2 separate regions of the Homo sapiens genome follow, and region 1 is linked to region 2. Evidence: promoter capture Hi-C in 16 types of primary human blood cells and fetal thymus (Javierre and others, 2016). All regions are on one chromosome and are shown on one strand. Each heading gives the region's core, a stretch centred on a gene start or on the middle of the fragment in contact. The rest is flanking DNA. Distances are from core to core; before and after follow the strand shown.

The links. Contacts are between HindIII fragments. The CHiCAGO score rates a contact against its expected background, and 5 or more counts as called.
Region 1: a contact is called between a fragment that was not itself captured here and the fragment with the promoter of BIN3 in region 2, in 4 of 17 cell types (endothelial precursors, M1 macrophages, M0 macrophages and 1 more). The highest score is 9.8, in endothelial precursors.

Annotation. Positions count from the first base shown.
Region 1 is chr8:22,927,104-22,933,391 of GRCh38, forward strand. It overlaps PEBP4 (phosphatidylethanolamine binding protein 4), which reads right to left and starts at 811. Exons shown (of 7, transcript NM_144962.3): 1 at 720-811; 2 at 481-617. The coding sequence starts at 611. The HindIII fragment of the contact is 298 bases long and covers 3,408-3,705 here.
Region 2 is chr8:22,666,809-22,672,929 of GRCh38, forward strand. BIN3 (bridging integrator 3) reads right to left here and starts at 2,313. Exons shown (of 9, transcript NM_018688.6): 1 at 2,236-2,313. The coding sequence starts at 2,243. RefSeq lists a silencer at 2,013-2,172 and enhancers at 2,036-2,665, 2,423-2,482. The HindIII fragment of the contact is 6,679 bases long and covers 1,108-6,121 here.

The DNA of each region.
Region 1 (6,288 bases), core at 2,307-4,806, 260 kb after region 2:
TCCCTAAAGGGCCCTGCACAAACGCTCCTGGGTCCTATCACTGACAAAAACCTCTCACACAGGAAGGGTCTAATCATACACCTTCTTTCATTCAAATGCCTCTTTGTTGGGGTTCTGGGGAGAGGGGGCATTCAGGCTGCAGGGAGGGATGGTCTCTCTCTGGGTCTCTCTCTGAGGGTCTCAGCCTCCTGCCCCCACAAAGACCCCCCAGGTTTGGAGGGCCCAAGCAGAGCCGACCACATACACAGCCCTCCTGGTCCTGGGAGAGGTGCATTCTGGAAGGCAGGAAGGAGTCTGTTTCTAAATCCCTTTCTCAGTGCCATCCTCCATCAAGGTGGTCTCCAGATCTGACACGTGTTCTGCCTTCCCATAAAATCAGGCTCAGGAGATGGTGCTTCTTGGTTCTGGATATACCCCTCCCTGCCATCTACCTGCCTGGTAGCCTCTGTGCCTCCCGCCTCCAAGCCTGCCCTGACTTACTGGCAAAAGAGGGTGTCCTCGTCCAAGAGGGCCTCATGGGCACACGGGCTGTTCTCATCCTCGTCTCCAGTGACCACCATCATGAGACCCAGTAACAGTGCTGCTGTGACCAGCCTCATTGTCCAACCCATGGGCACCTGGAACAGAAAGAACTTTAGAGCGGCTGGATCCCCTGCAGGGGCCTTCCTGCCCACTACCTGTGCCCCCGACCCCAGGGGCCCACTTGGCAGGATAGAGACCTCTGGTTAAGCACAGGGAGAAGGACAGGCAGCTTCCAGGGCTCCGCAGCTAATCCAGTCCACCACCCGGACACAAGTACTTTGGGAGGACTGGGCCTCTTCCAAGTTGGACTCAATGTACGTTCCTGGCAGAGGCCCCTCCCCTGGCAGGACACAGCTTTGTTGTCACTCTTGTCCTGGCTGCCAGGGCAGAGAGCAGGCTGCAAAGTAGAAGTGCTTATATAAGCTCCTCGGTGCAGCTCCTTGTCCAGTCCCTGCTGTTGGCCCAGGGATGGTCAGCTGGCCAAAGGCCAGCCTGCTCCTTGGCTGTAAGGCAAGCCCTGGGAAGCTGGTGACCCCAGGCTCAGGGCTAGGAGTTGGGCTGTGCCCCTCAGACCGGCTCTGACTCTCCTGGCCCCCATTCTTCCACCACCTGTCTCCACAGCCTGTGAGCTTCCCCAAGGTGGAGGTGGTTGGACACAGTGACCTTGTGTAGGAGGGACTGCTGCAGGGGGTGGGGGTAGGTGCACCCCAGACCGAGGCCAGCTCCGAAGGGCCAGCTCCGAAGGGCCAGCTGAGGACAGAAGGGTGCGTCTGGGTGCACCTTGCAGCTGTGCTGCACTCAGCACTCTCCCAAAATAATCGTATCTGGAGAAGGAGGTCTGGGGAGCTGCTTGGGGCTCAGAAAGGGGTGGCCTGCCCCAGCAGTGCACTGGGAGGAAGGGGAGCCGGGGACTGTCGCCTGCATTCCCTTGGGGAACAGTCCTGCCACCAGGTGCATGTGGGACTCTGGTTTGAGCCTGAGTGGGCAGGGAGAAGAATAAAGGCGGCTTGCAACAGGCTTTCCAATAGCTCTGCTCTCTGCTTCTCAGAGGCGGGGGTGGGAGAGACGTGCCAGCAACTCAGGACTCCTGGCTTCTGCTCTGAGCTCTCTCTGGATGCTGGGAGGCCACTGTGTCTCCCTAGAATGCACCACTTTTCCTTTTCACAAACAAGTAAAATAATTCCTGTCACCGTGGTGCCTTGCTAAGGAATATGAGATCATCGCTGTAAAGTACACGCAGCTAGACCTTTAGAGAAACTACTTTCAGCATAGTCTGCTTTCTGGCTCAATTCCTGCCTCCAGGATCCCAACCTGTAGCAAAAAGCCCCCCTTAGGGGCTACATATTAAACACATTTCTCAATCATTAGGTTCTCTGAAGTACAACCAGGACTCCCCCTTGCCCCAACCAGAAAACATATTCCCAAGATCTCCCCTAGTGGACAGAGTCTAATAGTAGCCTCCTCACAAGATCATTATGAGAATGAAATCAACCAGGTTAAGCCCTCAGTAAGGTGCCTGGCACATAGTAAATGCTCAATAATTTATGAATAGTCTAAGTATTCTCTCACGGATCCATCCATTCATTCATTCCTTTGCAACCCACTTCACTCATAGGCATTAAGCACCTCCCACGTGCCTGCCCCATGTTGGGCCCTGGGGTATAGGTTGAGCATGCAGCTCACAGGACAGCCACAGCCAAGGAGATGCTGCCAGAAGGGCTGCCCAAGACCAAGAAACTCATCTTCCAAATGGCATCCACTAGAGAAGTCTCAACTTTTCTGGGTGTCAACTCCTTTAGCACAGTGATGGCGGCCTGGAAGAAGGGAGAGCCCACAGTGCAGGTTGCTGCTGTTGAGCCCACTTCCAGTGGCGGTTCTTCCTTACTCCACGTGCCAGGCACTTTTATCTCCGAATCCTCATGCCAATCCTTGGAAATAGGCACTATTATCACCCCATCTTATGGAGGAGGAGACAGCACAGTGACATTAGTTAAAACCTGATCTTGGTCACCAAGAAGTGGCAGACCTGGAATTTGAACCCCAGGCTCTGGTTGAACCTGTGGAAACTGGGTTGAGTCCATTGAGTCCATGCTTTGTTTTGAGACAGGGTCTCACTCTCATCGCCCAGGCTGGAGTGCAATGGGGTGATGCTGGCTCCTGCAACCTCCGCCTTCTGGGCTTCAAGGGATTCTCCTGCCACAGCCTCTCAAGTAGCTGGGAGTACAGGCACACCACGGCTCTGGCTAATTTTTGTATTTTTTGTAGAGACGGGGTCTTGCATTGTTGCCCAGGCTGGTCTCGAACTCCTGGGCTCAAGTAATCCACCTGTGTGCTCCCAAAGTGCTGGGATTACAGGCGTGAGCCACCGCGCCCAGCCCAGAGTCCACGCTCTTAACCACCTGGCTCCACTGCACTCTGTAGCTGCTCCATTGCCTCTCACTCACTCCCTCTACATTCCCTTTGCTCTTGGGAGAAGGACCCAGAGTCCTTCACGTGGACCACAATACCCTGCGAGATCAGGCTTTTCCTGTCTCTCTAGCTGACTTCCTCTTCCTCTCACATGTTACCTCTGGCGGGTTCCTCAAGCTCCTTTCTATGCCAGGGCTGTGATAGGCACTGACCCTGCTTCCCACCTTCATTAGGGGGGTAGCTGAAATGTCGTTTCCTAAGAGAAACTTGCTCTTTCCCCTAGGGTCCATCAGATTCCTGTTATAAACAATTAGAGCACTTTACTGCTTTCTTCATTATTCTCATATAGTTGTAATAAATTATTTTATAGTTATTTGCTTAGTGATAGTATCTCCTCATCCCCCCAGCCTATAAGCTTCTCGGAGGCAGCACGGAGACTGTCCAGCATTCTGAGCATCTTACATGGAGTATATAGAAGCTTAATAAAATTCTTGTTTAAGTGCATGACACACGCCACTTCCGTTTCTGATCATCCTCATTTTCACTTAACAGGTCTTAACTCTGTACAAACATCAGTAGGAAACTAATCACTCAGGTTGGCCCTTAGCCCTGGATGCCTTTTGCTTATTTATCTAACCTTCTCTGGCTTGTTTTTGTGCAGAGAGATCTGGCAGAATGCAGTGGTTCTCGGGATTTTTCAAACCTGATCTTTCTCTTGGGGATTTTCAGGACTTTGATTCATACTTGAAACCTAAGATCTGAAAGCCGTGTTCAAGCTTGCGGAGTGACAATTCTCCCTCCCCATCACCACCCCGGCTCCTGGAAAGTCCCATTGCTAGATTTCTTGGTGCCCACCCTTGAAGTCCCCCTCTCTTCCTTCAGTTACCTGGGCTGGGACCACCTCCAGACACCACCATTCAAGCCAAACCTGTGGCTTCCTGAGACACATTGGTCCCTCCAGCTACTGGGATCTGTTGGACCACTGCTGCTGAAACTCTTCACTCCCTTCTTATCCCTCCAGGCCTCCTGTGCCTGACACCCTCCAATCACTGCCTAGGCCTCACTTCATTTCTCTACCCAGACACAGACTCTTGTTATTTCTCTCCCTCCTAAACCTTTCCACATAGGCCCTCTGGAATCTCTGAACTGTAGTGAACAAATTCCCCTGAATTCTTTTCATTGATTCCTAATTAAAAATTAATTGAGATATAATTCACACATAAAATTCACCCTTTTAATATATATAATCCAGTGAGTTTTCGTATGTTCACAAGCTTGTGCAACCATCACTACCAAAGTACAGAGCATTTTCATCAACCTAAAAGAAGTCCTGTACTTATTAGCAGTAACACCCCATTCCTCCCTACCCCCAGCCCCTGACAACCCTAATCTATTTTCCGTCTCTATGAATTTGCCTATTTTGGATGCCTCTACCAACATTTTCCCCTCCCTCTTTTCCAGCCTCCCTTCCCATGACCACTTTCTTGGACATTTTCATCACTACAAATTGCTCCATCCCTAAAATATTAAATTCAAGCAGTTTTTTTTGTTTGTTTTTGTTTTTGTTTTTAGGTGGAGTCTCGCTGTCACCGGGGCTGGAATGCAGTGGCATGATCTCAGCTCACTGCTGCCTCCGCCTCCTAGGTTCAAGTGATTCTCCTGCCTCAGCCTTCCAAGTAGCTGGGATTACAGGCACGCACCACTATGCCCAGCTAATTTCAAGCAGCTCTTCTGATCACCATCTCTTCTCCTTCCTCTACCCTCTTGTTACTTCTCTGCACTTAGTCTTTCATTTGATTCTAAACTCTGGTCCCTCGACCACTCTCCTTTTTCCTTACCTATTCTGACTACCTTCCCTCTGGTACCTGGGTCTTACAAACCTTTGTACTATTCACTTGCTAACATCTTCAATTTCTTCGCCCTTATCTTCGCATTGCAGCTGTTGGATGCAACTTCAAATTTGGAACAGTCCAGTAATCTGGCTACTCCGTCATGCAATCCTGCTCCCACTCTACTCTCAGTATCCTGTGCCTTCTACAGAGCCCAGGGTGGGGCCCAGGAGCCATGGGGGAAAACACTGTGCTAAGTGAAAGCAGCCAGTCGCAAAAGAGGACATATTGTATGATTCCATTTATATGAAATGTCCAGAATAGGCAAATACACAGGGACAGAAAGTAGACTAGTGGTTGCTAAGGCTGGAGGTGGAGGTGGGATAAGACGTGAATGAGAGGTATGGGGATGATAGCTAAAGGGTATGAGGTTTCTTTTAAAGGTGATGAAAATGTTCTGAAATTGCCTATGTGATGGTTGCACATATCTATACATATACTAAAAACCACTGAATTATACACTTCAAAATTTATGAATTGTGAGATAAGTGGAGCATATAGCAATAAAGCTGTTTAAAAAAAGTCATCCTGGGGATGTCAGCAAAATGGATGATTAGGAAGCTCCAAGCTCTTGTTCCCTCATGGAAAGCTAAACACACATATACACACACACACACACCCCCAGAGAGACAGAGAATTGGATGAACTAACTTTATAGAAGCTCTGGAAAACAGCCAAAGGTTAGAGCAGCCAAGTAAATGCCTAATCAAGGAAAGCCTCCTTAACTGCACCCTGGGTGAGAGAAGGAGACCCTGTCTCAAAAAATTTTTAAAAGCCTCCTTCAAAATAATAGGAATTTTTCCAGACACGGTGGCTCATGCCTGTAATCCCAGTACTTTGGGAAGCTGAGATGGGCAGATCATCTGAGGTCAGGAGTTCAAGACCAGCCTGTCCAACATGGTGAAACCCCATCTCTACTAAAAATACAAAAATTAGCCAGGCATGGTGACAGGCACCTGTAATCCCAGCTATTTGGGAGGCTAAGGCAGAAGAATCACTTGAACCCAGGAGGCGGAGATTGCAGTGAGCCAAGATCGTACTACTGCACTCTAGCCTGGGCAACAGAGCAAGACTCCGTCTCCAAAAAAAAAAAAAAAGGTTGGAAATTTCATTTTCTTTCTACCTTGTTCCACCTCCACTGCCAGCAGTATTGGTCTGGAGGAGATAGTAGCTCAAGCCCCAGCTCTTCCTTAAACTCAAAGAAGGAGAGCCAGACCCATCATGTGCAATGCTCTAATCTGTCTGGGGTCCACTTGCAGGAGTAGTCTCTGCTTTGCCTAAGGGAAAAGGGGAAGCATTGCTTATGAAACCAGCAGACCGACTACAGACCTTCAGACACTGAAGACAAAGATTACAGTTGAGACATACAACAGACCATCTAAAGCCCCAAGAAGCTCAAGGAATTTCAAGTAAAATAAACTCAAAGAGACCTACGCTGAGACATATTAGAATCAAACTGTTGGAAGCC
Region 2 (6,121 bases), core at 1,063-3,562:
TGGCACAGCCCATGTACTTGGTGAACTTGACCTTGGGCATCAGCCTCCCATGATGGCTCTACGTCACTCTGGTCTCTTCCCCTAATGAGAATTCCAGTCTCACATGAATGGATGGATTCATTCTGGGGGCAGGAAAACCACTCAGGGAGTGAATCAGAAGGACCCAGCCCCGGTCTCCTTGCCAGCCATTGAGCTAGGAACTGAGTGTGATTGTGTGCCCAGGCGCCGGTGCTGTTCCCGTCTTTGAGAGACAGGGTCAGGGTCCACGCAAGAGATGACGTAGAAGCCCTTTAAGGGGGAAGAGAAAGGAATCTCAGCTTTGAGGGACAAAGCCACCCTTCTGGCTGTGACTCTCAGTCCAAGGAGATACCAAGATGTGCATGTACTGGTAAATTAAAGCTACTAGATGAAAATCTCAGCTCTTGTTAGACAGTTGTCAATCTCAATTCTCTCCAACCTGACAGGATAACCTTTAAGGAATGGGCTACTATTTTTTCAGAAGGGAAACTTTCTGTGAGACAGGTGGAAACAACCTGCTTCGGATCACCCAGAGAATCATTTACCTTTATTAGTTTCTGCTGTGCTCTTCTCCCAACTTGTGAAGGAAAGATTGGTTCAGTAAAGGCCAATCTAGGCAATATAAAGCATCTGTACTGCCTCATTTTCACTTTGAAAAATTAGGTAAGAACACTCCAAAGATTCAAGACGCAGCAGCCAAAAGGATATCTATATTGCAAGACTGGGGGGCCCAGAATGACACTGAAAGGACGTAATTCCTCTGGGAAAGGGAACTGAAGAATTGCCGCTTTGCCCACCACTAACTAGGTTATAACAAGACAGGGAAGGTAGCTTTTTAAGGCTCCAGCCCCTTATTGGCCTCCTGGAGCAAATGGTGGAGGGAAAAGCAGAAGCTCCTGCCGGGGCTTATTAGGACATTGCTTCAGGCTTTCCTCCCGTGCTTGCGGTGATTGTCTGACATTTGTCCATCAATCTTGGTCTAAGAAACAGGTGGGGGAGGGGACAGATGGTTCGCATTTTACTTTAGAGAAGTATCCCTGACACTGACTGATATCAGCTGCTTGCGTTCTCCACTGATGGCCAAAATTAAGCTTCAAAAGCCTTCCTGAAGGACATTCTGTTATCTTAATTCATTCATAACTGGTTATCATGCGCTTTGCATAAACAAACACACTAGCCTCTGAGGACAGAGTGGCAAATATGTTCCCTATGTCCATGGGCTGATTAATCTTGTACATCTCTGGGGCTCAATTTATTCACACACTATAGTTGAATCCCCTGAGGTCCAGGGTTGTGGCTATATAGGTCCTTGGGCCTGACGGTAAGGTAAGGTGCTGCATATGAGTATTCTCTAACCTCTAAGAAAGCCCCAGGAAGGCAGGCAAGTCACAATTCTCTCCTGTGAACATAAATAATCGAGAGCAACAAATGGGGATTGCCTTTTGGGCAAACTGAGTCTTACAAAATAAATACACCATTATGAAGTGTCTACTATGACCCAAGTATCACATCATACTGCAGCAACTGGAATTGTGACTCTATTACTCTAAGACTCCCTGGCTTCTTTTCTCATGGCATGATAGTTCCCATAAGTTTAAACTTAACCATGCCTATTTAGAGGGCAGGCAGTGAGTAATAGCTCTGGAATGATTAAAACCAGTCCAATCCCACAGTGGAAGGGTGTGTGCGGAGTGTAATTCTGGCCCCTTTAAAAAGAGAAGCAAGTTTTCCTTGTCTTTTGAAGCCTGCTAAGTCGTGCAAAGAGGATAGTTACCCAGAAGGGAGTGGGTTTTGATTAGTGAACTGGGTCCAGGCTGCCACAGCGAGGGCCACAGCTCTGGAGGGACTGGCGCGGGGCAGAGATGCCCACAGGAGAGAAAGACGACACTGACTCCACCTCAATGGGTGTTTAAAAAAGGAGGGAACAAGGAAGTCCCTCACTTCAAGGAGCTAGGAGGACGCGAGTCCGGCAAAACGGGTCAGACGCGGAGTCCCAGGCTAAGAGGATCATCCGCCACTCTCCCCGGGAGTCCTGCTGAGAGACTGCGACTCCGGAAAGCACCGAGGGAACGACCCTAGGGCAGGGGCTGTCGGGCCTTGCTCTGGGGCGGAGGGGTCGCGCGGGACCGGAGGGAGCCGGGACGCGGCACTGACACAGGGCCAGGGGCCTCGCGGGTCCGCGGGTCCAGCAGCTCCCGCCGCCTGGGCCTCACTCACCAGCTCATGGTCCCGAACCTGCGTCTGCCGCCGGGGTCCTCAGCCACAACTCGTTTCTCTAGGGTCACTTCCGGATTCAACCAGTCTCCAGGAAGTGACGTAAGCCCGCCTCTCTGCCCGGAAGAGGCGGTTGGGAGGCGGAGCCCGGCGCGTTAACCCTTCTGCTGCTGCGTGCTCGCCGCGGAGTTTCCCTTGCCGGCGACTCTCTGGCTCTGGCCAAGCGCTTAGACACACAGGCTGCAACGGGGGATGAGGGGAACCTCTGGGGGCGTTTTCTGCCTTCAACACTGACTCCTAAAGATCTCTTCACCTGACCATGCAGGGCCCTTAGCCGGGCTGTCCCCTCTGTCAAGTGGTTTCTAATCCAGAGACAGTGGCAGCAATTGTCTGTGGGAGAAGAAGCCATTTGGGATGGAGAAAGTGGAAAACTTACATTCTCTGAATGCTCTTTCCTATCTTTTACAGTTTGTACACCACACATGCATTACCTGTTACAAACAAACGGACGTTTCCCTTCCAAGATGGCACAGGGCTCTGAATATCAATAGATAGGTGCTTTTCAGGTTGGAATGTTTCCTAGAGTTATTCAACACAATAAGACGCAGAGTATGAGTTGTTCCCTGCCTTTCAGCCCTTCCCTTTGGTCTCCTCTACAGGACTCAAATGATGTAAATTGCCCCATTCGTTCTATTCCTTCATTTAACTAATACTAGTTGCACTAATATTAGTGTCAGGTACCGAGCCAACCTTAGGATACAGCTATCTCAGAGAAGTATCTGCCCTGCTCTTGTTCCTTCCCAGAGCTACTTTCCTGGAGGGAGAGACAAGCAGGCAATTATAATCATGCTATAGGATAGGATAGAATGAGGTGTGGTGGCAGCCTAGAAGGGGACCCTGAAGTAGCACATGGGGTTTTGGGGAAGGCTTCCAGGAGGAGCCAGTGTGTAAGCCAAGCCCTGAAGGCAGAATCGGGGCTAGCCAGGTGAATCTGAGATGAGGGGTGACGAGGCTCCAGGCAGAGGGAACTTACCATGGCTAAGACACAGACAGGACCAAGCAAGCAGCTGACTTGCCTCGGGTCTCCCAAAGTCAGAATTCAGGGCCTTAGTGGCTCACAAGTTGCCTGGGATTCTGGGCCGACTTGGTTTCCTCACCGCTAAGTACCTCCCTGCCTTGGAAGAGAGACAAGAAGGCAGTGAGGCCCGTGCAGGTGCTGCTGGGCCCCCAGTGACCTTCTCTCTAGGAATTCTCCTTCCTCAGATGGACCGGGATTGTTTCAGGGACTGCTTAGGGGGTTGCTAATCAATGACCTAGCGGGAAAAATATGACCAATGACCTAGAGCAGAAGTAGTGTATGATTTGTTTTGACCTCCTAGGGTGGAGTAGAGGGCTTGAGCAGGAGAGGTAGGAGGGTGGGCCACAGGATGCAGTCTCTCATTTGTGTTTTCTGTTTCCATTCTTGAGAGTCCATAGTTTGACTCAATTGACGTTTCCAATGGAGGTTGGATCCCCAAGCACATCATGCAGATCAGCTTCATTACCATGTTGTTCCTCAGGAAACAGGCCAAAATGAGCACAAGAGCAGCCTTGAAGAGTAAAGAGGAAGAGCAGAAGTCACCAAAGGGTAGCCTGGGCAGAGAGTGTGGGTAAAGGGAAAGAGAGAGTCCTTGCTGCTTTGCAGAGAGTGTGACGGATGGAAGGGCTGTTGTGGGTTTAGGAGCCTCCTGGCAGTTAGCACCTGTGAATAGTTTTCCCACCTGCTTCCTCCCTTCCCCATGTTCTGCCTCCCTCAGTTATGCCCCACAGGGATAAATATTTCCAAACGTTTTAGCCTAGGTAACTGCTATATCCTAGTAGAAGTCTGTTTCAGGGCTGGAGGGCAGCAGACACATCCTAGAGGACTAGAATGGATAAGTTCTGGACTACAAGTCTGGAGGAGTCTGCGGCTCTATTTCCAGTTCAACCTTTGACACTATAACTGACCTCAGATAAGTCACATCCCCTTTGTGGCCTTAGTCCCCTCATCTATAAGATGGAGTGGGTAGATCACATCCCAAAGTATCCAACATTGCAAGGTTCCAAGTCAGCTGTCTTGTTGACTCTAGAGGCCCTAGGGAAATAGGAGAATGGGAAAGGCAGGTGAACAGAGGGGCAAGCCCAGAGAAGTGGGCAGGTCTGAGGAACTGGTGATATCTTGGATAAAGCTAAATATGAATTTTTCTGGGGCTGTGCTGTTGACAGGTCACCTCGAAATCTTTAATGCAGCCAGCAGGATCTTTGAGGTTACTAAAAAGAATGGTGTCCTCCCAGGAGTCTGTCTGGAATGTGCCTGCTTGGTCTCCTTACCTGTGGCTCATTCGCTCAGCTAGAGGGGCACTGGGCTGAGGAGGGACAGTCAGGCATCCTGCTATCCTGTGTTCCTCCATGAGCCTGCTGTGCCATGAGGCATTGATCCCTGGGGAGCTGAACATGGAGACACACAAACACTTCCCACTGTTGTGAAAAACTCAGCCTGCAGGGTCGGGAGCTATGTCTTTCTTATTTATAACCAAAGGGACAGCATGATACAGATTGATCCTGCCCCTGCAGGGAAGGAATGGAAAAGAGAAAATTGGGTTTCTAAGTAGAAGCTGAGAGTGGAGGCGCTTTGGGTAGAGGTGGATACTCCTGGTTTCAAGCCTTGTAAATACTGATTCTTCCCCAGAAGTCTGAGCCTGAAGGTAAAAGACTGTTCAGGTGGCAGAGGTCTACTTCTGGGACAAAGCTGTTTACGAGGGGAAAAGCAGCAGCAGAACCTGCTCCACCATCAGCCCCCAACTTTTCCTTGGAGGTTTTTGCTCAGAAGTTGGTAAGCAGGTGCTTCCCACTGACTCTCATCTCTGGGATTGTCATGTCCTGTCTCTCCCAGCCTTTCCCACACAGAAGTCTAGGGCTGGCCCCCGAGTCTTTCACCATGCCAACCTCTTATTAGTGAAGAGTGAGCATTCCCAGAACCTGGACCTGGGCTGTCAGGGACTTCATTATAGCACTGGGCTAAGGCTGAAAAACTGAATGTGATAGGGCCAAATTGGTGGGCTCAGCTCTCTTGGAGCCCTAAAGGTCTTGATTCCTCAGGGAGGCTCCTGCAGATATTCAGACACAGGCCTCAGGTTTCTCTGTGGCCTCACTGCCCCACTTCTCCCTACTCTGTACCTGCTCAGTAGGACGTCTCAGAAAAATAGCTTTCCCAGGGCCTTTGGGGGGCAAGGACATAGGAGGAGGAGCAAGGGTGGGAGAAGAAGGAGGAAATCAGGGTGAGATTTCCAGTGGTGGGAGGCCCACACGGACTGCTCAAAGGTCAGGGTGAAGTGACACATCAGAAGCCAGGACAGCAAGAAGCGAGCAGAACCAGGAACGCCTGTCTGACCCGTGGCTCTGCCTCCAAGTGGCTTGAGGGAGTCTTGTCCCTCCTCTGGGCCTCATTTTCCTTGACTGCAATGGGAAAGGTCCAGGTTAGATCTGGGAGGGCGAATGGATATCATCCCATGTGCCAACTCTGATTGTCTGCTTGGAATGCAGTGTTGAGGATTCTGGGGAATCTGCCATCAGTGGGGAAGTTCTATGATTGATTAGTCATGTCTGCCTTGGACAAGAAAGAGCGATGAGATGGTTTATATTCCACTTTATTGTTATTATTTTTATTATAAGTTAACAATAATTGAGCACTCATGACATGACAGGCACTATTCTCTGCAGTTCACATTTAATCCTTGCCTCAACCCTGTGAGGTGGATACTACCATTATTATCATTTCACAGATGATGGCGCTGAAGTATAGCCATGAAGCAATAGTATAGCTTCATGAAGCAGTGAAGTGGGGTTTCTGACCTGAGCACCCTGGCTTTGA